Regions from separate parts of the Homo sapiens genome. Here region 1 is linked to region 2. Evidence: promoter capture Hi-C in human tissues and cell types (Jung and others, 2019). All regions are on one chromosome and are shown on one strand. Each heading gives the region's core, a stretch centred on a gene start or on the middle of the fragment in contact. The rest is flanking DNA. Distances are from core to core; before and after follow the strand shown.

Region 1 (2,912 bases), core at 226-2,725, 180 kb after region 2:
TCACTTGAATTGGCCTGGCCATTTGAACAGAAGAGAGAGTCTATCAATTGGACTGTTTTGTGGACACCATAAAATCGTCACATGGCACTGGTAAGTATGAAGCATGTATTTTTTCTATTGGTCTGATTTCTGATCCAGTTTTACAAATAACCACTGGCAGTATTCCTTACCATTCTGCTCTTCACAAGAACATAAAGTAGTAAAATTAATAAACCCCTTTATTTTAACTCTTGCTTCAGCATATAATTTTCCCCATATGCGGCCAGCTATCTATAAGATGCGCCTAATATCAAGATCCTTTATTTCACATTGTAAAAATCTTTCGTTTTTGCCTTCTTCCAAATGTGTATCTCTTTTTATCTAGGAATAATTAAGTCAGGATGGCAGAACAATAATATTTACAGGCAGTGAACAGAAATGCAGAAGTGGAATTTACTAGCCAAACACTGCATCTGAGTCATTATGCCACAAATAAATTATGTGCATGCATGAGCAATACATAAACTTATTCGTTCAATTTGTTCTGACATCATAAGACATTTTAAGGAAATGTTAGAGACTTTTAGCTCATTTCTATTCATTGAAAAATTGTATTTAGCCACCTGTGCCTCTGTGCTTTCTTCCAGTCTATGGCCTTTTTTTGTAGAAAAAAAAAATTCTAAAAATAGATATGGCATTCCTTTTAAAATCAAATGCCTTCTTCAAAGAAGTTGCCGTAATAGAAATAGTAAGTAGTACAGATGGTATAGCTGTAAATTAAAGTTTATTCTGACTTAGATACCACATGCAATCATCTATTATTTAATAATAGAAAAATGGGGACTGGGACTGGTTATATAAACATGAATCCTTTTAGTTGATCCCTTTCATCTCTACCTATCTGTATTTCTAAATCTTGCAGACCCTGTATGCGTTGTTTTTGTCTTCCTGTTTTTAATGTCATGTGAATTTCCTATAAAAATTGCAGAATTGTTTTCATTCAGCTTAAGACAAATATTTTTTTCTTTCTGAATCCTATACAGATGATGCCTGTAACTGGCAAGAAGAGGCATATATTTGTTACAGGTGGAACGTTTCCCATGCCCATGTGGTACTTGTACTGACTTCCATCATCGCACCTCTAACATGTTGTTGCCCATATCTGATTCTATCTTTGTTTCCTTTCTCAGGCAATAAGTACCTGAAGGGCAGAGACCATCTTTTTTGTTTTTTCCTGTGTATTTCTAGTTTTTCATGCAATATTTCTCGAGAAAATTAATGTCCCATCCCATTCCTTACCTAGTTATTTATACATTGAGAAAAAAACTGATGTCTCTAAGAAAAATATAAATGTAAGCAACTCATAAATAGGTAAGTTAACATTTTGGGGCATCCACAGTATATTACTACTGATAGTTAAAGGAGGTATAAAGAAAACACTAGACATGGTCCCTTTCTTTATGGTACTTCTAGACTATGAAAAGAGAGGGCTCAAAAGCACATGTGTACACAATGTACGAGTATCTATTTACCAAAATAAGTACAGTCATCCTGTACACAAATACAAGCCATACAAATGCAGTCTATTTCACGATTAAGTAGGCAATATTTGTATCATGTGTTATTCCTGAGATATTTTGAATCCCAGCTAGATTTTCTACTGCTACCTAGCAAACTTCTAGCCATTTTCCCCCAACTATCCAGCAGTTATATGTTTAGTAGATGAAACATATCTTCAGTGTTAACCTATAACATAATTCAGAAGGTGTATCCACTATAAAATATAATAAATATTTTCAGTGTCAAATAAAAATAATGTATGGGATATCAGATTCTCTCTACCCTACTTACTAAGATAGCTTGGCTAATTGCAATCTGACCTGAATTCAAAGCTTTTCCTTCCTTACCATTGCTCCCAAGAGCTTATAAATTATTCTGCTCTGTTCTTTCTGTGTTTTCTTTTTCAGCTCTTTCCTCAACACACACACACACACACACACACACACACACACACACTTCACTTACTTTCCCACTCCATTCTCTCACCTAACTTTACTGTGCCTTATCCTTTCTTTTCAGCCTTTTGAAGTATCAGATAGTCTGACAAACTAATCCTTCTGTATGTGTTCACAGGACAGGGATGAAGGTTCTATGTAAAGGCATGTATCAATTTCAACACTTAGGCATCCAGAAACAGCGTTTTCATTGGATGATCCAGTAGGGTGCTATTCAGGGATAATTTTTCAGGTAGCAGTCTGGTGGAGGAACCCCTCAAATGCCACTGTGGAAGATTATTTTCTTAACATATAGGTAGGGTTGAATATCTGGATTCAGGAATGACATGATTGATTTGATACTGGAAGACTTAACAGGCTGGAATAATACTGAACAGCTTTATAAATAGGAACATCCATTTATTTGATTGATGAGAACTGTGCTTACTGCAGACACCATTCACATGCATTGTGACTGAGGCCCTCTTGTCTTGACTGTATCCTGACAGGGTGTCTGACTAGTCATTTCAACAGGTGATTTTTTTGCTGACAAAGAGCACATTCTCAGTTATCCATGAGATGTCTGTCATCGGCTTTTCTTTTATGGTCAGGGAGGTCGAGTGAGGTCCAAATTCAGACCTCAAGGTCTGCCATGTCATAGAGCCTTAGGCTTGGAACTCACCTCACAGATCGTGCAATAAAACCGTAGTCCACGTGGGACCACCTCTACAACCCTTCTCCTTGAACACTAATAATCTGCCAACCAGAGACCAGAATATAACAGCAAGGAATATTTCCTCTCGGTTTCAGTAGAGCCTAATATGCTTCTTTGATCAAGATAAGTATTAACACATCATCTTTCACAAGATGATTTGTCTGTGTACTAATATGTCATGGAGAAGTTATGGTTGCATTATTTGTTCGTCAAATTTACAGTTA
Region 2 (3,051 bases), core at 241-2,740:
GGGGCTGTGGGAAGCCTGACTTATGTCCCATAGATCAGAAGCACAGGGAAAACAAGCTAGGGGCTGGGCGCAGTGGCTCACGCATGAGATCCCAGCTCTTTGGGAGGCCAAGGCAGGAGGATCACAAGGTCAGGAGTTTCAGACCAGCCTAGCCAACATGGCGAAACCCCCTCTCTACTAAAAACACACAAATTAGCCAGGCATGGTGTCATGTGCCTGTAATCCCAGCTACTCGGGAGAAATCGCTTGAACTCAGGAGGCAGAGATTGCAGTGAGCTGAGATCGTGCCACTACATTCCAGCCTGGGCAACAGAGCAAGACTCTGTTTCAAACAAGCAAAAAAACAACAAACACAACTTGGGGCTTGCAATCGGCATTGAAAGTGGGGGACAGTCTTGTGGGACAGAGCCCTCAGCCCGATCTGATGCTGTCTCCAGGTAGACAGTGTCAGAGTTGGATTGGAGGACACCTAGCTGGTGTCCACTGTAGAAGTGATTGCTCGGTGTATGGGGAACCCCCACCCACCCACACACACACACACACATCTAGTGTCAAAAGTGATCTGTGTTGTGAGAATATAGGAGAAATGGAGTTTGGTTTCCCCTATGTATGACCAGAGACCCAGTTTCTTAACTCTAAAAGCAAGATCTTGGGGACAATTGTCCTTCCTTCCTTCTTTTATCCCAGAGAAAACTAAGTGACAGAATATACTGGAGTGTAGTACTTGGACTTCCTTGTAACAACTCTGGGTTTTTTTTGTTTTGTTTTGTTTTGTTTTGAGATGAAGTTTCGCTCTTGTTGCCGAGGCTGGAGTGCAATGGTGTGACCTGAGCTCACTACAACCTCCGCATCCTGGGTTCAAGCGATTCTCTTGCCTCAGCCTCCTGAGTAGGTGGGATTACAGGTGCCAGCCACCACGTCCGGCTAATTTTTGTATTTTTAGTAGAGATGGGGTTTCAGCATGTTGGCCAGGTGATCCACCCGCCTCGGCCTCCCACGTGCTGGGATTACAGGCGTGGGCCACTGCACCCAGTGTACAGCTCTAGGTTTTAATCCATACCGCTTCTCTTACTTGCTGTGTGCCCTCGAGCAAATCACTTCACCTTTCTTAGTATAGGTTTCCTTCTGTGATAAAGGGCATGGACCATTGTGAGAACTACACAGCACACTTCAGGCTGAGGTGGATCCAGCTTGGACCCCCCCTTGCTACTGAAGGGCAAAAACATCCCAGCACAAGGCAGTTTTACCTCTCCACAGTCCGCTGCCCAGCCAATGATTTTATTACAAACCCTAATTTCTTTTGCAAAGAAACATCTTGAACTGGTCATGAACAAAGTGGCTTTCTCTGACCAGCAAGCAGGTGGCGATTCCATTTCCATCAGAACTGACCTCCTGCTGCCCAGGGAGGGGGAGTGGGGAGAGGGGAGGGAGAGGAGAGGCCTGATGTCACTCAGCCCTACATAAGGGCCTCCTTCAGGCTCCTGCAGGCAGTTTGGAAGCAGCTGGAGGAATGAGTTAGGTTCCCGGTTGCGGGACAGTTTTTTTTTCTTTTTTAAAACAGACACAGCTACTGAGTGCAATGCCGCCTCCACAGAAAATCCCAAGCGTCAGACCCTTCAAGCAGAGGAAAAGCTTGGGTAAATTTCTTGGGGTAGCTTTCTGGGTTATCTAAAGAGAGGAGCGGATCTGGCCTTCTCTTGATCTTTGCTTCTTTTCTTGATCTTTGCTTCTTCTCTTGTGCTTGAAATATTCACAGCAATCAGACAAGAGGAAGTTGCTGGAATCCGGGCAAAGTTCCCCAACAAAATCCCGGTAAGACACCACTGGACTTCCGCTGGGGGGCGTGGGGGTGGGGTTCCGATCCTGTTCTCTGAAAAACCAAGAGCAGCCAACAGCTTCCCTCTGTCTGTTCCAAGTTCCTAACACTCACGCTGAGTCACATTCTTAAGGACTGACACTCTTGACAGGTGGTAGTGGAGCGCTACCCCAGGGAGACGTTCCTGCCCCCGCTGGACAAAACCAAGTTCCTGGTCCCGCAGGAGCTGACCATGACCCAGTTCCTCAGCATCATCCGGTAGGTGGCGCAGAGCGTGCCCCGGAGGAAGGTGCGCTGGGTGCGCCGGGGCTGTTGGGCTTTCTTCGTTTGGCAGTTTTATTTTGGGGATGGGGGCACGTCAGGGGAAGAGAGGAAAGAGATTTTTTTGAAGTCACCTTTTAGATTCACTAGTACCCTGAAAAGATGCTCTTAGAATTACTCTATTTTAAACCCCGGGCGGAGTGGCTCATGCCTGTAATCCCAGCACTCTGGGAGGCTGAGGCAGGTGGATCGCAGAGGTCAGGAGTTTGAGACCAGCCTGGCCAACGTGGTGAAACCCTGTCTCTACTAAAAATACAAAAATTAGCTAGGCGTGGTGGCGGGTGCCTGTAATCCTAGCTACTTGGGAGGCTGAGGCAGGAGAATCGCTTGAACCTGGGAGGCGGAGGTTACAGTGAGCCGAGACTGTTCCACTGCACTCCTGGGCAACAAGAGTGAAACTCTGTCTCAAAAAAAAAAAAAAAAAAAAAAGAATTACTCTATTTTAAACAGGTAAGGAGAATCCCTCAGACAACGACAACAACAAAAAAGACCTGCCAACATTTCTAAGAATTTCCTAAAGTAGTTAGTCTTGGCTCTCAAGCTAGGCCGGGAGATCCTTTCTTTCAGATCTTGTGTGAAACCGAGTCTGCGCGTCCGTTGCAGAGACCAGCACCTTTTCCAAGTGTATGTGTGCCTAGGGGTGGGGACTTCTCCCCAAAGGAAACGTTCCCTGCTCAGAACACTGAGAGAGAAAAGCATCCCCCAAACACACTCCTCCCTTGGTTAAGCCAGAGGTACAGCAAAGAACAGGCAGCTATTCTTAAAGCATAAAGGACATCACTTGACACATGGATTCAGTAAAAAATGATTTGGGAGTAAAGTAAATATACCCGATGAGTAAGTTTTCAACAGGGTTGAAAAGTGCTTGGAAGCTGCATCGCTGTTGCAGCCTGTTTTTTTGAGAACACACGATG

The links. The method cuts DNA at HindIII sites, captures the fragments that hold promoters and counts their contacts. A contact is called where the count stands out against the background at its distance.
Region 1: a contact is called between a fragment that was not itself captured here and the fragment with the promoter of MAP1LC3C in region 2, in 1 of the 25 tissues and cell types used here (aorta).

The regions. Positions count from the first base shown.
Region 1 is chr1:241,819,097-241,822,008 of GRCh38, reverse strand. No RefSeq gene overlaps it. Among named protein-coding and RNA genes, the nearest start is that of EXO1, 28 kb to the left of the region's middle. The HindIII fragment of the contact is 3,695 bases long and covers 1-2,912 here.
Region 2 is chr1:241,997,537-242,000,587 of GRCh38, reverse strand. It overlaps MAP1LC3C (microtubule associated protein 1 light chain 3 gamma), which reads left to right and starts at 1,490. Exons shown (of 4, transcript NM_001004343.3): 1 at 1,490-1,637; 2 at 1,757-1,812; 3 at 1,968-2,074. The coding sequence starts at 1,580. RefSeq lists an enhancer at 980-1,505. The HindIII fragment of the contact is 15,931 bases long and covers 1-3,051 here.